Linked DNA regions of Homo sapiens: region 2 is linked to region 1. The links are contacts of gene promoters, found by promoter capture Hi-C in blood cells and fetal thymus (Javierre and others, 2016). All regions are on one chromosome and are shown on one strand. Each heading gives the region's core, a stretch centred on a gene start or on the middle of the fragment in contact. The rest is flanking DNA. Distances are from core to core; before and after follow the strand shown.

The links. Contacts are between HindIII fragments. The CHiCAGO score rates a contact against its expected background, and 5 or more counts as called.
Region 2: a contact is called between a fragment that was not itself captured here and the fragment with the promoter of FAM241B in region 1, in 4 of 17 cell types (M2 macrophages, naive CD4 T cells, megakaryocytes and 1 more). The highest score is 7.2, in M2 macrophages.

Annotation. Positions count from the first base shown.
Region 1 is chr10:69,627,475-69,634,246 of GRCh38, reverse strand. It overlaps FAM241B (family with sequence similarity 241 member B), which reads right to left and starts at 4,000. Exons shown (of 4, transcript NM_145306.3): 1 at 3,934-4,000; 2 at 2,700-2,767; 3 at 2,408-2,538; 4 at 651-1,457. The coding sequence starts at 2,503. The coding sequence ends at 1,188. RefSeq lists an enhancer at 2,572-3,457. The HindIII fragment of the contact is 17,043 bases long and covers 2,683-6,772 here.
Region 2 is chr10:69,529,979-69,536,171 of GRCh38, reverse strand. LOC105378345 (a long non-coding RNA gene) reads left to right here. Exons shown (of 3, transcript XR_007062177.1): 3 at 84-162. It also overlaps a transcript of TSPAN15 not described here. Among named protein-coding and RNA genes, the nearest start is that of NEUROG3, 40 kb to the left of the region's middle. The HindIII fragment of the contact is 7,934 bases long and covers 547-6,193 here.

The sequences.
Region 1 (6,772 bases), core at 2,751-5,250:
GGATCCCAAGAAAAGGATGAGAAACCTGGTGCCAGGACAGGCAAGTCCTTGACTCACCCAGCCTCCCTCCAACCCATAAATAACCCTCCTCCCTCTGTGGCCCAGAGCCTCAGCCACCCAGTGCCTCCCCAGGCAGGGCCTCCACGCAGACCCAGGGCTCACATGTCAAAACGCAAGGCCTCCTCTCCAGAGAAGCAGGGCATCCTCATTCCACATGCACCATTTTCTAAGGAGAATGCACTGCAGCCAGGGGTGACAGAAGCCTCTGGAGGGTGAAAGAGGCTGAGCAGCCTCTGGTCAGGAAGGTCTCCTTAAGCAAGGGAGACCTCGGACCTGCACCCCAGCTCTCCCGACCCTGCAGCCTCACCAGCCATTCTGGCCAGAGGAACCCTCCCCACAAAGCTGACCATCATGCCTGGCATCTCAGAGTGAGGCTGGAAGTTATCCACACATCAGGCAAGGGGTCCAAGCCAGATCTCATCTAGACCTTCTCTCCTAGTTCTGCGTTCCTACTGAGAAAATCTTAGAAACCACCCTCTGAGGTCAAATGCTCGCTGCTGCCTGTTCCCCGAACCCAATCCCTCTTTACCATGTTTTCCGGATCTGCATGCAGGTGTACGATTATTCATACATTTCTTTATATGGACTCATTTTTACTTAAATCTATTTATTGAAAAGGTCACAATAAATAGAATGCCACTACCACTTGTCCTAAACAATAAAGTAGCCAATAAAAATATACCATTAAAACAAAAACAGTGCTAAAAAAGTCTGGAATTTTTTCCACCTGCCCTAAGCCCAAGTCCTGCTCCCTAGGCAGAGGAGACGTCGGCATGTCTTCCACAGGCATCGGAACATGTTGGCATCCAGCTGAGATCTTCTCGGCATAAAAGGATTGAGAGAATTGGGAAGGGCATCGCTTTCTTGCTCTGATTTTGTGCCACTTAATGCAGGCCCCATACCACCTAAAAGTATCTTGGGAACCAACGGACCCACCCACACTTTGGAAATGCTGGACTAACGTCTCCCTCTGCCTCACGCTTAACACAAAGGGGAAACACACACCTGTGGTCCCCTCTCTGATCATACCTTCAAGGCACCACCAGATCCCCTCCAAATATGCCTGCTCTCACACCAAGGCCCAGCAAGTCCCTCTCAACAAACCCACCCCTATCAGCCCTCAGAGGTCACCGCTGACTCAGGTGGGACACCAGGTAGACAAGGCCAACCAGGAGGAGGCCACGAACACCAAGCATCATGAGCAGGAAGAGGAGCAGGATGGAGGTCACCGGCTCCACAGCATGGTTGCCAAGATGCCACTGCGGAAAGCCCATGTTCACCAGCTGCCGGTTGAGGTCATTGAAGGGGGACTGAGCAGCACCCAGCCTGGCACCTGCCTGCTGCTGGCGGGGGCCAGGACCCCCTGGGGGAGCACCATGGCCCCTGTTGAAGAAGCTCTGGAATGTGAAGACAGAGAGAGATGAATGAATCATTGGGTTGACGCACCAGCCAGGAATCAACCTCTCTAGGCTGCATCCTGCCCTTCCTACAGCCACCCAGGGTCACACCCTCCTTTCTCAGCAATCCCCCATGCCACCCATAAGAATCCCAACAACCAAGTCACAAGCTCTCAGAGCACAGAACATGCCAGTCTATATTCCTCACATCAGGCCCAGGACAGAGGAGAGAGGAAGTGGTTGAGGCAGGTTGGACTACAGGGCATGGCTCTAGGGCCAGCATTTTTAATACTCATCATCACTCCTTTCTTTTTTTTTTTTTTTTTTTTTTTGAGACGGAGTCTCGCTCTGTCACCCAGGCTGGAGTGCAATGGCGCGATCTCAGCTCACTGCAACCTCCGCCTCCCAGGTTCAAGCGATTCTCCTGCCTCAGCCTCCTGAGTAGCTGGGATTACAGGCATGCACCACCACACCTGGCTAATTTTGTATTTTTAGTAGAGATGGGGTTTCATCATGTTGGTCAGGCTGGTCTCAAACTCCTGGCCTCCTGATCCGCCCACCTCAGCCTCCCAAAGTGCTGGGATTACAGGTGTGAGCCACCGCGCCCAGCCACCCCTTTAAAATGATTATTCTGTGCCCAGGGCTCATCTCCTCCACTTCCTCTCCAGCTTCTGTCATCCAACCCACTCTTAAAAGAAAGACGCTAGCTCCAGTGAGGTTTGCTAACCAAGTTAAAGGAGAGAGAGCTCTTGGCTGTGAAGTCTGGGGAGGCGCCTGGAGAAAGGAGATCTGGGGAGGTAGACAATAAGCCACTGCATCTTCCCCAGCTCTCTGCAAAGAGGGCTTCAGGCTAGAAAAGGTTAGTGACCAGCAAGAGAGACTTCTGGAAGCTAGGAGTAGCCAGTACACAGGAGGCCATCTGTCCCACTCCACAGGAAATGAGTACCTACCTGTCGAGGAATGCTACCTCTTGGTGGCTGGGTAGTGGTCCTCACTCGGGGGTCGTCATCCTGCACGATTTCCCCATTGGCCAAGATCCGCACCATCCTCCCAGGCGCTGTGGGTCCCTGATGGGCTGCACCTGCATTGTGTGGTCAGGGTGGGCAGGCTAATGGAAGCCAAGTGGCACAGAAGTTCTCCCCACCACAAAACCTTTAGCTGTTAGTGATCTGGGACCAGACTCGTGAAGATCTGTGGAGGATTTTCCCCCTGACCTCAAAAAGCTTGAAGGAAAAAATTTACCAGAAATTGAGGGAGGCTTGCAGTCAGTGATGTTCACAGAGGTGACCCACGCTGAGTAGATGCTGTGTCTGATTAACAAAAAGGGGAGAAATAAAGGCAAGTTGTTTGCCAGGCAAAAAGATTTCAGACATTGAGTCCACCAGGAAAACTATCAAAAAGATCCTTGGCAAAGGAAGTTTTACTGCCAATCACTACACTGCCAACAGCACAACTGGGACTAGAGCCTCTGCTGTGGCCCACGCCCCGTGGAAGGCCCATCCTGCAAGGCTCACCTCACTCAAGCCTCACAACACTCCCCCGAGGAGGGTACTAGCGCGGCCATTGCACAGGCGGAGGCACAGGGAGACTTAAGTGGCCTGCCCGGGATCACACCTACGGACAGCAGAGAAGGAACACGAGGCCAGAAGCTCTGGTTCTAGGGCCCTCCCTGGGTACTAAACTGGGAGTCCAGGGCACCAGCATCCCCAGTGGGGTTCCAATTCCCTTCCACTAAAAAATGGGTCGAGTGTGTTGCTCCCCCAGGGAGTCAATGTCACCACCTGGGCCTTCCCCAGGAACACCCAGGGAGATGAGGGTCACTTCGGGGTTACTTTACAACCACTGCCTGGTAGCGGCAGACCATCCTAGCCATCATGCGCCTCGGAAGAGCACACCTTTGCTGCAGAGGGCACGCCCCTCACCTGTCCCTCACTTCGCAGGGAACACCAGTCCAACCTTGGCTAACGGGCGCAGGGCCCAGCCTTCCCAAAATATGGGAGGGGGTTGCTGCGGTGGCCCTCGAAAGGCTCCACTCCGCGGACCCCTGGACTGCGGGGCCCCTCCACGCCTCCCCTTGAGTCTGGGTAAAGGCCATTCATTCTCAGGAGATGAGCCTCAGTGTCCACCTACATTCCAGATAGCACTGGTGACATGTATGCCGAAAAAGGTCAGGAGCCCTGTGGTCTTGCCCGTAGCCTGGAGCCCGGGACAGGCGCGTCCCCCTCCTGAAGCCCGCTGGCCCTGGCGCAGGCCGAGCGGATGGTGGTCGCGCGCAGTCCCTTTGTGCTTTGTCATCGCGCCCCCGCCCGGTGGGCCACCCGCGCGCCCGGCCCGCGGCGCACCTGACATTCCGGGCCGGGGGCGGGAGGGACGCTGCCCCGGCCGCCAGCCCCAGCCTCTGGAGCCCGACACCGGCTCCAAGTCCCGGCCCGGGCTGCAGCGAGGGATGCGCTCCCTCCCCGGCGCGGCGACTCACCTGCAGGCGCGACTCCGGGCCTCGGCGGCGTCCACTCCCGGCGGCTCCAGGCGGTTTCCTCCCACCTGACCTCACAGGAAGCGCGCGCCGGAGGGGCGCGGCCCAGTGGCGGCGCACATCGCCCTCTGTAGGCCGCCTGAGGAATTGCACCTGCCCGGCCCAGGGTTGGGGGCGGCGCGGGGTGCTGGGGGTCGGGGAGATGGGGCGTGGGAAGGAGTGGGAGGTGGGGATGGAGAGAAAAGAGGATGGGAGGAGAAGACACGTGGAAAAGAAGGAGAAGAAGGAGGAGGGAGAAAAGAAGGAAAAGGAAGCGGCGTCCACGGAGGAAAAACCCAGGGGGTGGGGGCGCCCTGGCCTGGGAGGAAGGGCGGGCGCAGGCTCAGATGACCAGTGTTATGTTTGCTGACCCAGCTCCGTGGATGCCCCTTGAGTAGGACCCAACCCTGCCCTCTAGGAGTTCCAAGTTCAGTGGGGAAGATGAGGCAGGAACGGGGCAGAACCCTCTGTAGGCTTCCAGGAGAAGATGCGTTTGAGCTGGGGCAGGAGGGTAGGTAAGGATAGAGAAGGTCACTCTTGGCAGAAGGAACCACCTGCAGGGAGTGAATGATCCACCTCTGCCTCCTTCCTGATGTTTTAAAATCCACTTCTCCCCCACCACCTTCATAAGCTGCTCCCTGTGGACCTGCTCACCAGTGGGGGAGAATGAGCTGTGCAGTCCCACAGTCTGGGTTCAGGTTCTGGACTCTAGCAAGTTACTTAGCTGCTCAGTGTCACAAAGCAGGTGTAATCATAGCCTTACAGGACTTCTGTGAAGATTAAGTATGATGTCTCTGGCACATTGGCAATGTTGATAAACGTTAGCTATGATTATCATTTAATAAATGTTTGTGGGAGTGGCAGATATTTGTTGAGCATTTATTAGAACCCAGATTCTGCTAGCTGCTGGGCAGAAGGAACAAAACTAAGAGAGAGATTTAGACCTGGCCTGGAGGACTCATAGTCGGCCACCATAGTCTGATTATTTGATCATGAAACCTTATCAGCAAAAAATGTTTCACGGGTCGCTCTGGTATCTGTATCTTATTTATATGTTACTATTTTTGTTTGTTTCTAAATTACACATGTGTACTGTGAGAACAGATTGGCATGATGGATAAAAGGTGGCTGCTGGAGCCATCCTGTGTTTGAATGTTGGTGTGACTGCTTTCTGGCACTTTCGTGTCAAGTGCTTGGATGAGAGCCTGGCTGCAGTACATGCTCAACGGCTGCTGACTGTTATGATCATTACCTCTTCTACTATCAAGTCGATTGTAAAGCATGCACATTTTAAAAGCATAGGATGTAAAGTAAATATAAACCAAAATCCTAGTGCTTTCTCCCCACACCCCAGTGTGTTCCAGGTATGCCAAGTGCACGCATGAAAGCAGTAATCACAAGGCAGGATGCCCGATTGTCAGAGGTGGCCTGTGATCCCAAATCGCAATGTGCACATTGGAATTACCTGGAATGTTTAGAAACCATCCCAATACCTAGGTTCCACCCCAGAGATCACAATGTCGTTGATCTGGGTTACAATCTGTGCATGGAGACATTTTAAAAACCAGTCTTCTAATGAGCAGCTAGGGCCGAGAAACACTGCCTTCCATGAACAGAACCCCATAAGTAGGTCACGGAACTCAGGAGCCCCAAGAGGGAGGTAACCTCTGTGGGCTGGGAAACCAGGGGATACAGGCAGAAAATCATGGATGTTTTCAGGAAGATTTGAGCTGGTATAACTGCTGCCAGAGAGATACACTCCAGCTGGAGAGAACCGTAAGAGTCGAGAGGAAGAAGCAAGTCCCTACAGAAAAGTCAAGAACAGCTTTGGGGTGGGAAGTGATAGTGCTTGACTGGACTTAGAAATAGCCTATTATTACCAACTAAAATAGCCTAAGGAGGCAACATACCACTTTTGCTATCTCTCCACCTTCTTCAGGTGTCTCTCCTGCTCAAGAACCTGCAATGGTCCCTACTGTCTGCTCCAACAAGCCCCAACTCATTGGCAAGGCTTTGACAACCCTCCAACTCTAGCCCCAGCACACTGTCAGCAACTCCTTCCCTCAGCTCTGCCCACCTGGCCTCTTTGCTTTCCCTGAAGTAGATCACCCAAAGGCCTGCTTTGCTTGGGCCTGAATATCTGCTGGAAGGCCAGCTCCACCCAATCTAAATCCCTTCATCCACAAACGTGATTGTTTCATGTAATAATAATAATAACCCCTATATGTGCAGAGTCCTTACTTCCAAAGTGTTTTCCCAGAGACCACTTCATTCTTTTTTGGATTATGAAATAGAAAGAGTAGGTGTTATTATTCCTCTTTTACCAAGGTGAAATTGAGGCTCAGAGACAAGGTAGATGATGAGCCCAAGGTCAGTGACAGAGCCAGCGTTCAAATGAAGGCAGGTCCCCGGGCTCTGCATTCCAGGCTTTTGCATCCACCAAACAGACTCCCCTGAGTTCATCTCAGCTCTGCAGCCTCTTTACAATTGTGCCCCCACCTTCCCCAGTGCCATCAGCACAAGATTGGGCATTGGGTCATGCCTTAACCCCAACATGTGGTCAATAAAAATGTGCTTTTGGTTTTCTGTTCATAGCAGAGGTCATAATTTTTAAGTCAGGTGTCCTGGCCTGTTCTCTGACTCTGCAGGTGGGAACAACTGTTTCTGCCTCAAAAGAGAATGGCATGATGATAATGGTGATGTCATTTTAAATATATTAATCTATCTATCTCTTTCTCCTGCTATTTCCCCCTGTCTCTTTCCCCTACTCTGGCAGACACTATGCCTGTGTTTATTACTCAGA
Region 2 (6,193 bases), core at 3,264-5,763, 99 kb after region 1:
AAGTGTCAAATAGAACCTGTTCACTGAGTTCCCTTGGCCCAGTGCTTGATGACAGGATGTCAAACATTTTTATTCCCAAAAAGGTGGCTTCCTCAATCCTGTACATGAATTGGTGGCAGTGGGATGAACTAAGCGACCTCCGGCCTTCCCTCCTACTAAGTAAGTTCAGGTTCGAAGATGCTCCATCCCTGCCATTTCTGAACTCCTCTGGGTCTGGTTTTTAGGAAAAGGCACAGGATTTGCCCCCACAACCCCTGGGACAGTGGGAGAGAGTTGGGAGAAAATCTCTGCAGCTCTTCCTTGAGATGAGGGATGGACAGCGAGCAGGCTCTCTATCCCCCAAAGCCACATATCCTCCAAGTCTCACTCTGGACTGGGTTCACATCACTCTACAGAGGATTTATTGAGCATCTCCTGAATGTAAGGGCATGTGTCAGATGAGAGTGAGGGCCAGGATGCATAGAAATAAATGGAACCATAGCCTCAGGGAGTTGGGTGTGGGTGCCAGGGGCAGAAAGCTGGCCCTAGACACTGAAGGTGAAAGCTTTCAAATCACACCAGATATTCTATTTCTTAGCTAGAATGACTTTATAAGGTGTTTATTATTTGGTTACTCCATGGTACTGTTCATATAAGAGAAGTGGCATAAATGCTTGATTCTTTCCCTTTAATTACCAGGATCTAAGACAACGCATTGCTTCTCTGTCACCCTCCAAAAAAGACAAATTGGTTTGTGGGTTTTATTTTTTTAGTATTATTATTAACTCATGGGTTAAGCATTTGATAGATTTCAGTCCATTATAATTATTACCCTCATTGAAGCTCACATTGTCCCATTTTGGCTACTGGGAGCCTCTTCAAGTTGACTCCTGGGTCCTTTTGACATAACCTTTGTGGCTTAAGAAGTTCCTCTCTGTCTGGTATGATAAGATATTCCAGATTCCTCTCACAATATTTCTCTAAAAGCCTGGTTTATTTTTCATAGGAAAGGGTATTTCAGTGCTATAATCTTGGTCCTAGGAATGCTCACCGCATTTGGGTGGTCATTATGCCCAGATGTTTTTGGTCAACAGAACTAGAAAATAGAAATAAAATATGTAAATATTTTAAGATAAAATACCTCAACAGTTCATACGGGGTTTTCCAATTCAAATTCAATATTAGAATTTGGGGTTTTGTTGTTTTTTGAGACAGAATCTCACCCTGTCACCCAACCTGGAATGCACTGGCATGAACACAGCTCACTGCAGCCTCGACCTCCTGGGCCCAAGCAATCCTCTAACACTCAGCCTCCCGAGTAGCTAGGACCACAGGTGTGCACCACCATACCCTGCTTTTTTTTTTTTTTTTTTTAAGATACAGGGTCTCACTCTGTTGCCCAGGCTGGTCTCAAACTCCGGGCCTCAGACAATCCTCCCACCTCAGCCTCCCAAGGTGCAGGGATTACAGACATGAGCCACTACACCTGGCCCAATATTATAGAGTTTCTATTTAACATCTACTATATTACATCTGTATCTTCTTTCTTCCATGCCAAGAATTCTGGCATACACAGAGGATCAACTGATTAGAAATCTCATAAACACTCATTTGCTTTTTTCCACATTGTACACACAACAGTATCAGAATAGTCATACTAATACTATCACCACCGATATGATTATTGAAAATGTTTTAAAATATTTTTGATAAGCTCTTTCATTCTCCTTGTGCCCCCATTATTTTGAGGGATTGTACCATAATTACACAATCAGATCATATAACCATTACATTCTACAAGTATCTATATGTTAACATTCACCACCAGTCTTTACGCTGGTGTCTCTCTATTCTTTCTGGTTGTCTGAAGCTCCTCTAGTAGATTCCACAGGAAGGGGCAATGGAAACAATGTTCCCTGAGTTCCCACATGTTGGTAACAGTTTGTCTCTGCTTTTGTACTTAAAAGTCACCTTTGCTGGATATAAAATCCTTGGTTTACACTTTCTTTCATTGAAGATCTTAAATATGTTACTCCATTTTCTTCTGGCATGAAGTATTACTGCCTAAAAGTATGATAATAATCCAATTTTCTTTCACTTCTAACTTAAGGAGTTTTTTTGCCTAGATGACCAGAGAATTTTTATTTTTCTTCAAAGCCTAGTAATTTTCCTAGAGTATTGTGTGGAAAACACAAACTGTTTTTCCTCTGCTCCCATGCCACATCTAATAAAGAATACATCTATGACCAAATGTCTGTGGGTTTTTCCAGAACACCAAACAAGCAATCAATTCTGCAGCAGACGCCATCTGGGTGTCCACTAATTCAATTCTGACACTATCTACCTTGATACAGCATCAGATAACACAGGTTGAGCACTCAGTACGCAAAGACTGCTCCCCACTTTTGATGCCAATCACAAGCCCTAGGTTGTTTTACCTGTGCTTCTGACCAACTGACTATAAATTGGGGTTCCCATGAACCCGTCCTTGGGTTTGATTAATTTTCTTTTTTCTATATTTTTTCTTTTTCCATAAGTTATTGGGGTATGGATGGTGTTTGGTTGCATGAGTAAGTTATTTAGTGGGGATTTGTGAGATTTTGGTGCACCCATCATCCCAGCAGTATACACTGCACCCTATTTGTAATCTTTTATTCCTTGCCCACTCTCCCCCTTCCCCGCAAGCCACCAAAGTCCATTGTATCATTCTTATGCCTTTGTGTCCTCATAGCTTGGCTCCCACATGTCAGTGAGAACAAACGATGTTTGGGTTTCCATTCCTGAGTTACTTCACTTAGAATAATAGTCTCCAATCTCATCTAGGTTGCTGTGAATGCCATTAATTCATTCCTTTTTATGGCTTAGTATTCCGTTTTATATATATATATATCACAGTTTCTTTATCCACTCATTGATTGATGGGCATTTGAGTTGGTTCCATGATTTTGCAATTGCAAATTGTGCTGCTATAAACATGCATCTGCAAGTATCTTTTTCATATAATGACTTCTTTTCCTCTAGTAGTGGGATTGCTGGATCAAATGGTAGTGCTACTTTTAGTTCTTTAAGGACTCCCCACACTGTTTTCCATAGCGGTTGTACTAGTTTACATTCCCACCAGCAGTAGAGAAGTGTTCCCTGATCACCGCATCCACACCAGCATCTACTGTTTTTTGATTTTTTGATTATGACCATTCTTGCAGGACTAAGGTGGTAACGCATTGCAATTTGATTTGCTTTTCCCTGATTGTTGGTGATGCTGAGCATTTTTTCATATGTTTGTTGGGCATTTGTATACCTTCTTTTGAGAATTTATTCATGTTCTTAGGCCACTTTTTGATGGGATTGTTTGCTTTTTTCTTGATGATTTGTTTGAGTTCATTGTAGATTCTGGATATTAGTCCTTTGTCAGATGTATAGATTGTGAAGATTTTCTCCCACTCTGTGGGTTGTCTGTTTACTCTGCTGACTGTTCCTTTGCTGTGCAAAGGCTCTTTAGTTTAATTAAGTCCTAGCAATTTATCTTTGTTTTTATTGCATTTGCTTTTGGGTTCTTGGTCATGAAATCCTCGCCTAAGCCAATGTCTATAAGGGTTTGTCCGATGTTATCTTCTAGAATTTTTATAGTTTCAAGTCTTAGATTTAAATCCTTAATCCATCTTGAGTTGATTTTTGTATAAGGTGAGAGATGAAGGTCGAGTTTCATTCTCCTACATGCGGCTTGCCAATTATCCTAGCACAATTCGTTGAAAAGGGTGTCCTTTCCCCATGTTATGTTTTTGTTTGCTTTGTTGAAGATCAGTTGGCTGTAAGTATCTGGGTTTATTTCTGGGTTCTCTATTCTGTTCCATTGGCCTATGTGCCTATTTTTATACCAGCACCATGCTGTTTTGGTGACTACGGCCTTATAGTATAGTTTGAAATCAGGTAGTGTGATGCCTCCAGATATGTTCTTTTTGCTTAGTCTTGCTTTGGCTATGTGGGCTCTTTTTTGGTTCCATATTCTAAAACAATTTTTTTAACTGTGAAGAATGATGATGGTATTTTTAGGGGAATTGCATTGAATTTGTAGATTGCTTTTGGCAGTATGGTCATTTTCACAATATTAATTCTGCCCATCCATGAGCATGGGATGTGTTTCCATCTGTTTGTGTCATCTATGATTTCTTTCAGCAGTGTTTTTTAGCTTTCCTTGTAGAGGTCTTTCATCTTCTTTGTTAATATTCCTAAGTTTTTTTTTTGTTTTTTTTTTGTTTTGTTTTGTTTGTTTGTTTGTTTTGCAGCTATGTAAAAGGGGTTGAGTTCTTGATTTGTCATAGGTGGCTTTTGTTACATTGAGGGAAGTCCCTTGTATGCCAGTTTTGCTGAGTTTTAATTGTAAAGTGATGCTGGATTTTGTTGAATGTTTTTTCTGCATCTATTGAGATAATCGTGTGATTTTTGTTTTTAATTCTGTTTATGTGCTATACCACATTTATTGACCTTTTGTGCAGGTATATCTTTCTGGCATGCTTTTTTTGTTTGTAGTAATATTATTCTCCCCCTTATTCTCTTTTTTCTTACAATACTTTGGGGTTGTTTGTTTGTTTGCTTTTTGAGACAGTCTCACTGTGTCACCCAGGCTGGAGTGCAGTGGCACAATCATGTCTCACCACAGACTTGACCTCCCAGACTCAGGTGATCCTCCCACCTCAGCCTCCTGAGTAGCTGGGACTACAGGCACCCACCACCATGCACAGATAGTTTTTGTGTTTTTAGTAGAGACGGGGTTTTGCCGTGTTGCCCAGGCTGGTCTCAAACTGCTGTGCTCAAGAGATCCACTTGCCTCGGCCTCCCAAAGTGCTGGGATTACAGGCATAAGCCACCACACCCAGCCTATAATACTTTTGAATAAGATTTGACCTCAGTATTTCTTATTTATTTTTATGTGAAATTAGTTTTCCTGAACTTTTAGAAAAAGCAATAGTCAAGGTATTTTCTATGACTACATCAGTCTCTTCTGTTGTGTCTACATAGTGTTAAAAATATAGTGGCTTGCTTGCTTAGATTTCCTAGTTCTGTTTCCCTTGCTCCATTTTTACCTAGATCAGCTCTTTACTTCATCTTTATTTTTCCTGTTCCGAGCAGTTTTTATTCCAATCCCAGCTTTAATCCTGTCTAGTTATAATCTTCATATTCCTATGTTAGAGTTGTTGTAAGAGATCACTTTGGAATTTTATAAGTAGTATTTTTAGCATTTATTGACAGAATTATGTGATCTTTGTCTTTAAAGTATCCTTCATTTATGTTGACAGATTTCCTACTTTTAAACTGTGTGCACTGAGAATGTTTGCATATATATATATATATATATATATATATATATATATATAGAGAGAGAGAGAGAGAGAGAGAGAGAGAGAGAGAGAGAGAGTCTCACTCTGTCACCTAGGCTGGGCACTGCAACCTCTGCCTCCCAGGCTCAAGAGATTTTCATTTTCAGCCTCAGCCTCCCAAATAGCTGGGATTACAGGCACACACCACCACCCCTGGCTAATTTTCATATTTTTAGTAGAGATGGGGTCTCACTATGTTGGCCAGGCTGGTCTCGAACTCCTGACCTCAAATGATCCACCTGCCTCCAACTCCCGAAGTGCTGGGATTACAGGCGTGAGCCACCACACCCAGCCACATCTATATTCTTAAGTGAAATTGGTCTATAATTTTTTAGGCCATTTTACGGACTTTAGGTCTATAATATTTTGGGAACTTACTCATCAGATTTTGTTATTAAGGTCATGTTTGCTTTATAAAGTGGCTAGCAATGTTTTTCAACCATCTGGAATAATTAGAATAACAAAGTTTCCATTTTGTTAAAATTTGATAAGGACTCAACAGTTCTTCTATCTCCTGGGCCCACACTAGACTAGAGTTCTCAGCTTTGCTTGTTGTTAGGGTACCATGTGACTGAGTTCTGGCTAATGGAACAGGGCAGAAGCAGATCCTTTCCAGACCTGAGGCATAGGAACCTTCAATTTTCCATCCTCTTTGCATCTTCTTTTGCAATGACCTTGGAACCATCTGTTAAAGATAGTAGATATCCATCAACCAATGAGTGGATAAAGAAAATGTGAGATACCTATATATAAACACACACACACCATGGAATATTACTCTGCCATAAAAAAGAATGAAATAATGGCATTTGCAGCAACCTGGATGGAGCTTGAGACCA